2 separate regions of the Homo sapiens genome follow, and region 2 is linked to region 1. The links are contacts of gene promoters, found by promoter capture Hi-C in blood cells and fetal thymus (Javierre and others, 2016). All regions are on one chromosome and are shown on one strand. Each heading gives the region's core, a stretch centred on a gene start or on the middle of the fragment in contact. The rest is flanking DNA. Distances are from core to core; before and after follow the strand shown.

What was found. Contacts are between HindIII fragments. The CHiCAGO score rates a contact against its expected background, and 5 or more counts as called.
Region 2: a contact is called between the fragment with the promoter of ATP2B1 here and a fragment that was not itself captured in region 1, in 2 of 17 cell types (naive B cells and total B cells). The highest score is 10.3, in naive B cells.

Annotation. Positions count from the first base shown.
Region 1 is chr12:90,258,138-90,262,314 of GRCh38, reverse strand. All of the region lies in intron 2 of LOC105369892 (a long non-coding RNA gene), which reads right to left. Among named protein-coding and RNA genes, the nearest start is that of LINC02392, 33 kb to the left of the region's middle. The HindIII fragment of the contact is 637 bases long and covers 1,585-2,221 here.
Region 2 is chr12:89,706,846-89,711,022 of GRCh38, reverse strand. It overlaps ATP2B1 (ATPase plasma membrane Ca2+ transporting 1), which reads left to right and starts at 2,185. Exons shown (of 21, transcript NM_001366521.1): 1 at 2,185-2,427. ATP2B1-AS1 (ATP2B1 antisense RNA 1) reads right to left here and starts at 2,068. Exons shown (of 1, transcript NR_028138.1): 1 at 1-2,068. RefSeq lists silencers at 947-1,496, 1,517-2,536, 2,687-2,916 and enhancers at 3,107-3,206, 3,217-3,306. The HindIII fragment of the contact is 7,681 bases long and covers 1-4,177 here.

The DNA.
Region 1 (4,177 bases), core at 654-3,153:
TGGAACACTGGTAATAAGCCTGAGATCCAGAGAGAAAAATATAGAAGATACACTGAGAAGACCAGGAAGCCTAATCCGAAAAGCATAAGCAATCCCATTGGACCAGTGGGAATCTACGAGTTTAGAATCTGAAGAGCTTGGTTTTAGCAGAATTTGAATGGATTTGGCATGTCTCACTTTTAGACTGAAACAAAGTGAATGAATCAAGATAGGAATTCTTAGACTTTCCTCTATTTGTATTTTTGACCAGAAAACCTATTATTAGTATTATTTTAAAAAGTTTTTGTAGATTTTCATCATCCTTATTATTTGGAATTTTAGAAAAATCTATTTCCTTGTATGTGTGCAGCTAAACCCTTAACAACCCCCAATAGGGTTCTTTCTTCCAGAAAATACAGCGGTGGAGATGATGAAAACCCAGGCTGGGTCTCAGGCAGTGGCAAACAGGAATTAGAGTAAACAATCTTCAGCTTCATGGAAGCAAAGAAAAGATAAAGGAGTCAGTCTAGGATGAAGGTAGAGCCCAGTAGAAAGTCTTTGCCTGCCTTATAACAGTTTATTCAAAAGAGGTGGCACATGTAATTGTTACTGGGATTTCTACTTCTTTATATAAAATCATCCATAACTTCTCCAAGCCATAGTGAGTTTTTAAAGTAGAGAAGAGTAGGTCAGGGAGTAGATCTGCTCCCATTACAAACTTTAGTCCCTATCACAGACATTCTAAGCATATTTTTTACTCCAGGATCTAAGTCACTGGTTAAAATGTTCACTGCCCAAGAAGCAATCTCAATGGAATGCCATTTGCTGTATCTCCCCAGGTTGACACTGAACCACAGATAATGTTTGTCAAAATGAGACACTTCAACCAGCTGTCTCTTCTCATAGCACATGTGCTCACAGTTGTCAGTGAAGAATTAAGACTGTAACAGCAGGGACAGTAAGGATTAATCTTGACAGTTTAGTAAAAGGAATGCACAGTTTAGCTTTGTCCAAGTCAGGATGCCTTCCTATTTTAGAAAGAGGATGATTTCAGTTAATAAAATTTAATTTGAAAAGAGTTGTGGATAAAAGAACTATAGAAGATATCTTGAGTGACAGCACACCAGGAAAACATTCAGAATTCTTGGTGACTCCTTTTCAATCAGAACGCCCAGGATTGCAATAAAGTTTTTGAGGATAAACATAGGACTAGTGGAAGAAAAAATAATGCTTGGTAAAATAAAAAGTCACATAAACTTTTTGTCAGGGTTCAAAAGAACATCTGACAGATGCAATACTTCACTATGTAACTCCATCTCTTGAAAAAGGAATATTAAGAAGGAAGAAGACAAATACTTTCTTTTACAGTCACAGTGAAATTATGCTTAAAATGACTGTTGGGATTTTCTACAAATAGAATGTTAGAATGTTTGCTTTTCCAGCTTCCTAGAAATATGGTTCTGTGATTGGAACAGATGTGCTGTTTAGCTCTTTCTCCTTGACCTTTTCACAAGTCTCGTTATTCCAATCAGGTAATGTACAGCTGTTAAAATAAATCTGCCCTCCAGGTTTAGGGAGGATGATGAGGCCTTGCACACTGAAGCTTCTGACTTTGTTTCTGGCATCATGGAACAGAGGTTATAAACTCAGTAATCCAGAGAATATGATAAACACACCCTAATAATCTTGAAAAAAACCAATCCAACTCCATTATTTCCATAAGGAGTGAGATCACCCTGAGAAGGGTGCTGTGGTTAGATGGGACATGAGCACATTAAATCTTCAGATTCCATGCAGCAAGCAGATCTGTATTTTGGGATTGATATCCAACTTTTCTGCCCAAGTGAGGCTTGTACACAGCTCCCATTATTTTTATTATGTTTTTGGTGATCTGCACAACTCTTAAACAATGAAGAAAGAAAATATGAGTGAAGAGACACATAAGTCTCTGGTTCTCAGGTCAAAGGCTCAGCAAGCAGCTGTTCAACCCCAAGGGCCCTGCAGAGATTCCCAGCAGTCGTCCTGAGGATGAGGCTCTAGGCTTGCATATTTGTCAGGGCACTTACATCCTGGACAGCACTCCAGTGCAAAATTGACCAAAAAATCAGGTAAGGCAGGCACTCACACAGCCCATCTGGTAAAGCATCCACCCTAGAGTCTGATGTGTCTCTAGACCTGGGTATCTCCACCCCATGAAGTGTACCTGACAATTCCCCACGGACTGGAAAGAGAGAATGAAGCTTATGTTTATATTTTTTAATTTTTATTTATTTATTTATTTATTTTGAGATGGAGTCTTGCTCTGTCGCCCAGGCTGGAGTGCAGTGGCGAGATCTGAGCTCACTGCAAGTTCCGCCTCCCAGGTTCACGCCATTCTCCTGCCTCAGCCTCCCAAGTAGCTGGGACTACAGGCGCCCGCCACCATGCCCGGCTAATTTTTTTTATTTTTAGTAGAGACGGGGTTTCACCATGTTAGCCAGGATGATCTCAATCTCCTGACTTCATGATCCTCCCGCCTCAGCCTCCCAAATATGTTTATATTTCATCACATTATTTTAAATCAATATTTTACGTGTGTTTGAAAATGTGCATAATACACTGGAACACTAGATTGCATATCAAATAATAAGTAAATATACATATAGGGAAGAATGCTTAATTTTTTATTGGTAAGAAGACATGCAATCTAAAAAGTTTGGACACAGCTGTTCTAGATTGCCCCCTTTCCCCAGCCAAATGTTCATTAAAAAGGCAAGGCCTCAGAAAGACATGACTGCCATAACAGCCCTCTAAATGTCAGCAAACCTGCTGATTGAGGACAGAGATTAGACTAAGGTTACCATAGGGCAGAGGGAAGGAAAAAGGAAGGAAGGGAGAAATGGGAAATGGAAGTCCCTTTCTTCAGATGACATCTTTCTCCAATAATAAACCTTTAAACCAGAGCCCAAACTATCCACCTTCCTCATCCTCGACTCTCTGACATACCCCACCTAATTTGGTGTGAACCACGGTAACTCTCATCTAATATCTGTTAAACCCAGGAACAAGATCCAGGGTAAAGGGTGCCATCTTGGGAGGGTGTGTGTAGTGAGTCAAAGAGACCAAATATACTCAGGAAAATGCAATGGCAAGATTCAGGAACATGCAGCTGCAGAGTGTGGTCCTCAGGTAGTTTGTCTGAAAGGTGTCCATGAGCAGAGGACACTGACCTCAAAATTGAAAAACAAGGCCAGGGCCAGGCATGGTGGCTCACACCTGTAATCCCAGCACTTTGGGGCAGATCACCTGACGTCAGGAGTTCAAGACCAGCTTGGCCAACATGGTGAAACCCTGTCTCTACAAAAAATACAAAAATTAGCCGGGTGTGATGGTGGATGCCTGTAATCCCAGCTACTCGGGAAGCTGAGGCAGGAGAATTACTTGAACCTGGGTGGCAGAGGTTGCAGTGAGCCGAGATGCTGCCATTGCACTCCAGCCTGGGCAACAGAGTGAGACTCTGTCACAAAAAAAAAAAAAAAAAAAAAAAAGGAAATAAAGAAAAACAAGGCCAGGCACAGTGGCTCACACCTGTAATCCCAACACTTTGGGAAGCTAAGGTGTGTGGATCTCTTGACCTCAGGAGTTCAAGACCAGCCTTGGCAACATGGTGAAACCCTGTCTATACCAAAACATACAAAAATTAGCTGCTGTGATGGCATGTGCCTGTAGTCCCAGCTACTTGGCGGGGCTGAGGCTGGAGGATCACATGAACCTGGAAGGTTGAGGCTGCAGTGAGTCGTGTTCATGCCACTTCACTCTGGCTGGACAACAAAGTGAGATCCTGTCTCAAAAAAAAGAGAAAAAACCAAGAGCTCAAGTTCAAGATCACAGGTTGTAAAGAGCACAGATTGTAGACAGGTGAACCCCAGGCCAAGTCCAGCCTGTAAACATGATTTGTTTGGTCATAGGTCATAGGTCTTTTTTAAAATTTTGAACTGGTTGTAAGCATTTGCAACTTGGGTGATTTTATACAGAAAATGTTTACATTTATGGCTTTTCTTTATAAAAGACAGATCTGAAAGCATTGTACCCACATTCCTGAATAGCCATCATGGGCTGAGGACAAGTTTTGTGCTTCCTAAACAAGGAGGGCAGAGGCTGTCATTGTCATTGCGTCCCTGCAAGGACTGCTGCACGCAGCTATGCTTGTTTCCATTGC
Region 2 (4,177 bases), core at 936-3,435, 550 kb after region 1:
CAGTGACTGAAGAGAGGAAAAATGCTATCATTCTGTTCAATGTTCGTTTATCTTACACATCAAGGGCACAGCTCAGAAGGCTGGTAATGTCAAGCCTAGTGAGATACATAAACTGATAAAAAAATTATTTGCAACAGCATTGATTTATATTTATTCACTTTTAAACGTCTTTTACACATTTTGTGTCTAATCTTTTAAAATATTTTAAAACAAATGCTATCATCAGATCGTGAACATAATACCATACTTCCTATTGCCTGTATGCTTTTGAGGAGGCTATATAAATATTAATTTTCCAGTTCTGGAATTAAGAGAAAGAAGATTGCAGAACTTATCTTTTTGTTCTGATTAACTGATACTGAAAATAACACTGACAAGGTCTCTGGGCCAGTGGCGACGGTGAGTTCAAATAAAGATTAGATGAAGATGAAGCGCGGTATCTTAGGTAAGATACACATCTTTACTGTGTATATGCGTGTACAAGAAGGAAAACTTGCTTTTTTTTTTTTAAGTAGATGTTACGAAGGATGGTTTTTTTTTTTTTTTCAACTTGCAAAATCTCTTGAAGGTTGGAGCAGAGCCGCCGGTTACCTTTGAGCATCGAAATACCGCAAGTTATCCCGTTTCCTTTTCCCCTCAGGAAAGATGGGTGCAGGGTTGAGATGTTACAAGAGAATTAAAAGAGAGCCACCAGCTTGGCATAGTAGAAGAAACAAACCCAAAATGAAAACACCCGGATTTTAAGCGCGGATCCTGCGAGGCCGGTTTGCACTGGCCGAACGCCTGCGTTAACCCTTTGGGCGCCGCAGCTGGGATCCCCGGTGTTTGCGGACCCGACCGGCAGGAACAGAGATGGAGTGTCCCGCGCCCGCATGGGGAGTGAGCTCTCTTCCCCAAAGAGGGAGCGAGCCGAGAAGCACTTTTTCCTCCGGTGCGTGCGTCACGGCCCGGGACAGGCGTCGAGTCCGGTTTGGAGTGGGGGCAGAGACGCGGCGAGGAGCCGCTCAAATGTCCGCTGACTGGGGGTTCGCCTTAATCTGTCCTCGCCAGGAGCGCTCGCCCTCGCCCTCCCGCTGGCTCGCTCCTGGGCCCTGGAGGGGCATGGGCCCGGGGGCGGTTCGGGAGGGGCCCCAGGTGAAGGGCGCCCGCACTTCTCCTGCGGCAATCATCGCTCTCCTGCCTCCACACGTCGCGGCAGCGGCCCGGCCCCGCGCCGAAACAGCAGCTGTGACTGACGGAGTCACCTCCCCGCGCGCCTGGCCACCCCCTCCTCCCCCGCCGCTCCCTCCTGCACCAACACGTCATGGAAACACGGACGTCAGAGCCTCTCAGCCAATCGCAGGCTGCGGCAGGAGGGAAGGGGCGCGCTGGAGGGGGCGGGGGCAGCGGCAAGCCAAGGCGCTCAGGGGAAGGAAGAAAGGGAGGGGCGTGCGGAGGCGCAAGTCCCCACCTCCGCCCCTCACTCCGGCCACCCTTTCCCGACCGCGCGGCAAGTTCTAATCGCCAGGCGCGCGCTCGCCAGCCGAGGGCGCGCTCGCCGGGTCCTCCCCTTAAACGCCCTCCCAGTGCCGCTCAGCTCCCAGTCCCGGTCCGAGCCGCGGTTCCTCCGCGCGCGCGCGCGCGCACTCGCCCGCCCCCAGGCTCCCCGCGGATCGCGTCACGTGACCGCGCTCAGCCAAGGCGGCAGCGGCGGCGGCGCGAGCTTCGGCGGCGGTGGCGGCTGTGGCAGCGGGAGCAGCTGCGCCGCCAGCGTGGAGCGGGAGGCGTGTGGGTGTGGAGAAAAGGGAGCGCCAGACCGGAACGGGTGAGCGTTCTCCTCCCCCTGCCTACCCCGGCAATCTTGCAGGCCACCCGGTGCAGACGGGGTCCCTGCCCGGAGCTGCGCGCAGCCCCCTCGTGCTCGGCCGTCCGCTCTCCGGTGCCCGCGGGCCCCGCCCCGAGTGGGGCGGGCTGCGGCGCTCACGGAGGTGGCTGCACCCCGCCCGCGGCTGCTGTTGCGGACGGCGGCGTGAGGCCGGCTGAGCTGCCCGTGCCGAGCGAGCGCGGCGCGCCCTGTGTGCCGCTCTGCGGAGCCGAGGAGGCGGGTCCTGCGGGGACGCGGGCGGCCACTCGGTGGCTGCCGGGCTCTGGGCGGGGACGGCCGGGCGCCGCCTCCTCCTCCTTCGCTGCCGCCGCCGCCTCCTCGCAGTGCAGCGTGAGTAGGGAGCCCCGGCTGGTGGACGCCGAGCCTCTCGGCTCCTTGGCCGCCCCATCCCCGAGGTGCAGCTGCACCTCCGCGTGGCGCCCCGAGCCCTGCGAGCCGGCTGCGGACGCGCTGAGGACGGAGCCCCCATCCTCTGCGTTTCCCGCTGCCCCTTAACGCCCCGCGACCCTCCCGCAGCCTGCCTTTCCTTCCCCCTCGGAAAATGGTTCCCACTGCCGGGCGAGGTGAGTGGCGGCCGCCGCCCGCCCGCGGCCGGGGGCGGCGGGGCAGGTCACCTGCGGGGGAGGCCAGGCGGAGCACGGAGGTCGGGCGTCGCGGCGGGGATCCTGATAGCTGGGTGCGCAGCGGGTTGCGCCGGATTCGGGAGAAGCTGACGGGGGCGGTCGGGGCCCCTCGCAGGTTGCCTCTTGCCGGGAGATTGTGAAGGTGAGCGGGCTTCTCGCCGTGCACCTCAGCGCCGGGTCAGTCTGGGAGTCGCTGCTCCGGGCCCGAGGGATGGGGCTTGTTGGGGCTTCTGGTCTACACCCGCAGGTCTTCGGCTTCACGAAGCCGCCTCGGCCGCGCCACAGCCCATCCCGCCACCGGTCGCCCCCGCCACGGCGCGTGGTGACCTTGAGGGCACCGTGCCCGGCACTCCCTCTCCCCGCGCCCCGGGAGGGTCACCCCTCTAATCCTTGGCCTCGGCCCCCCAGACGCACTGCGGGAGGGGAGCGGGGGCCCCTGGTCGGCCCCTGGCCCTGGTGGTTGATTGTTGGCGTGTCAGGACGGTGATTCCTCGGGAGTTGGAGAGCCGCCTGGTCTTTCTCCTCACGCCTTCCGTCTGGCCCCCCAGGATGTTCACAGTTGTTTCCGATTCGTGTTTATTCACTTAGTTTAAGAGAAAAAAGCCTGCGCCCCCACCTCCCTTTTTGAGGAAGGAGTCTGTAGGAGGACCGCGTTCCAGTGGCAGGGGTGTGGGGTGGGGGCTGTGCTCTCTTTATCCCATCCTGCGGGAGAATCCTGTGGCTAAGCTGGTTAGCGACCCCTGGTTCTGCGCCGCGGTCACCAGCCAGGTTGGTCTCTGTGCGCATTTCATTCACCAGTTTTCTGCGGGACTCGCAGCGCTGGGAGTGCTCGCACCCTGTGCGCTGCTTGGCTCGGAGGGGAGGGCAGGGCGTCCGGGTGGGTTAAAGGGGTCTGCAGGTACTTGGAGGGCTCGACCCTCCTCGACAGGCTGATATTTACCTTTTCTTTGGGTTAGAGCGCTGCAGACAGCCACCTTTCGCTTCTGTGCCCGCTACTTTTCTTGGTTTATTAATAATCTAATGGCTTCTGTTGGTATCGATTGCTGTTCGTGATAAATTAGCTACATAGATTTTTTTCATACGTGTGTAGGTATATGCATATATCTGAACTTGTCTGCCTGTCAACATGGAAGCCTTTGTTGTGTTTAACCTCCCCCACCTGAGGACAGTCTTATTTTAAAATAAGGCTTTTGTTCAGCGTGGGTGTATTTTATAATAAGAAGTACTTGTAAGGGCCTGGTTTGTATGAGGCTCTCATCTGGCAGAGGGTGTGTAACCCTTTGGATGGTGGCCCACGTGAGTGAATGGAGGGCCTTCACCACTTGCCCCGATGCCAGCCTTCCCGAGACTCCCTGTCCTTGTGTGTGGCAGGGGTGGATTGGGGGAATTAAGAGGGATTGGAGGAGAATCTGCTTTTTGTACTTGTGCGTTTCATTTGGGTCCTCCTCCTCCCCTCTCTTTTTCTTTATCCTCCTGGTGAGTTCAAATTTGAAGTAAATAGAAACATTTTTTTTTTAATTGGGAACCTTTGATAGCTAGTATATGAAATGGGCTTATTTAGCTATGATTTCAGGAGGACGTTTTAGTTTTTACCTTGCTTTAGATAAGACAGCTAAATTGCTGTAATTAAGGGTGGATCTCTGTCCTGATTTTGGCTTGGGTGTAACTGCAAAGATCTTTGAAAAGTAAC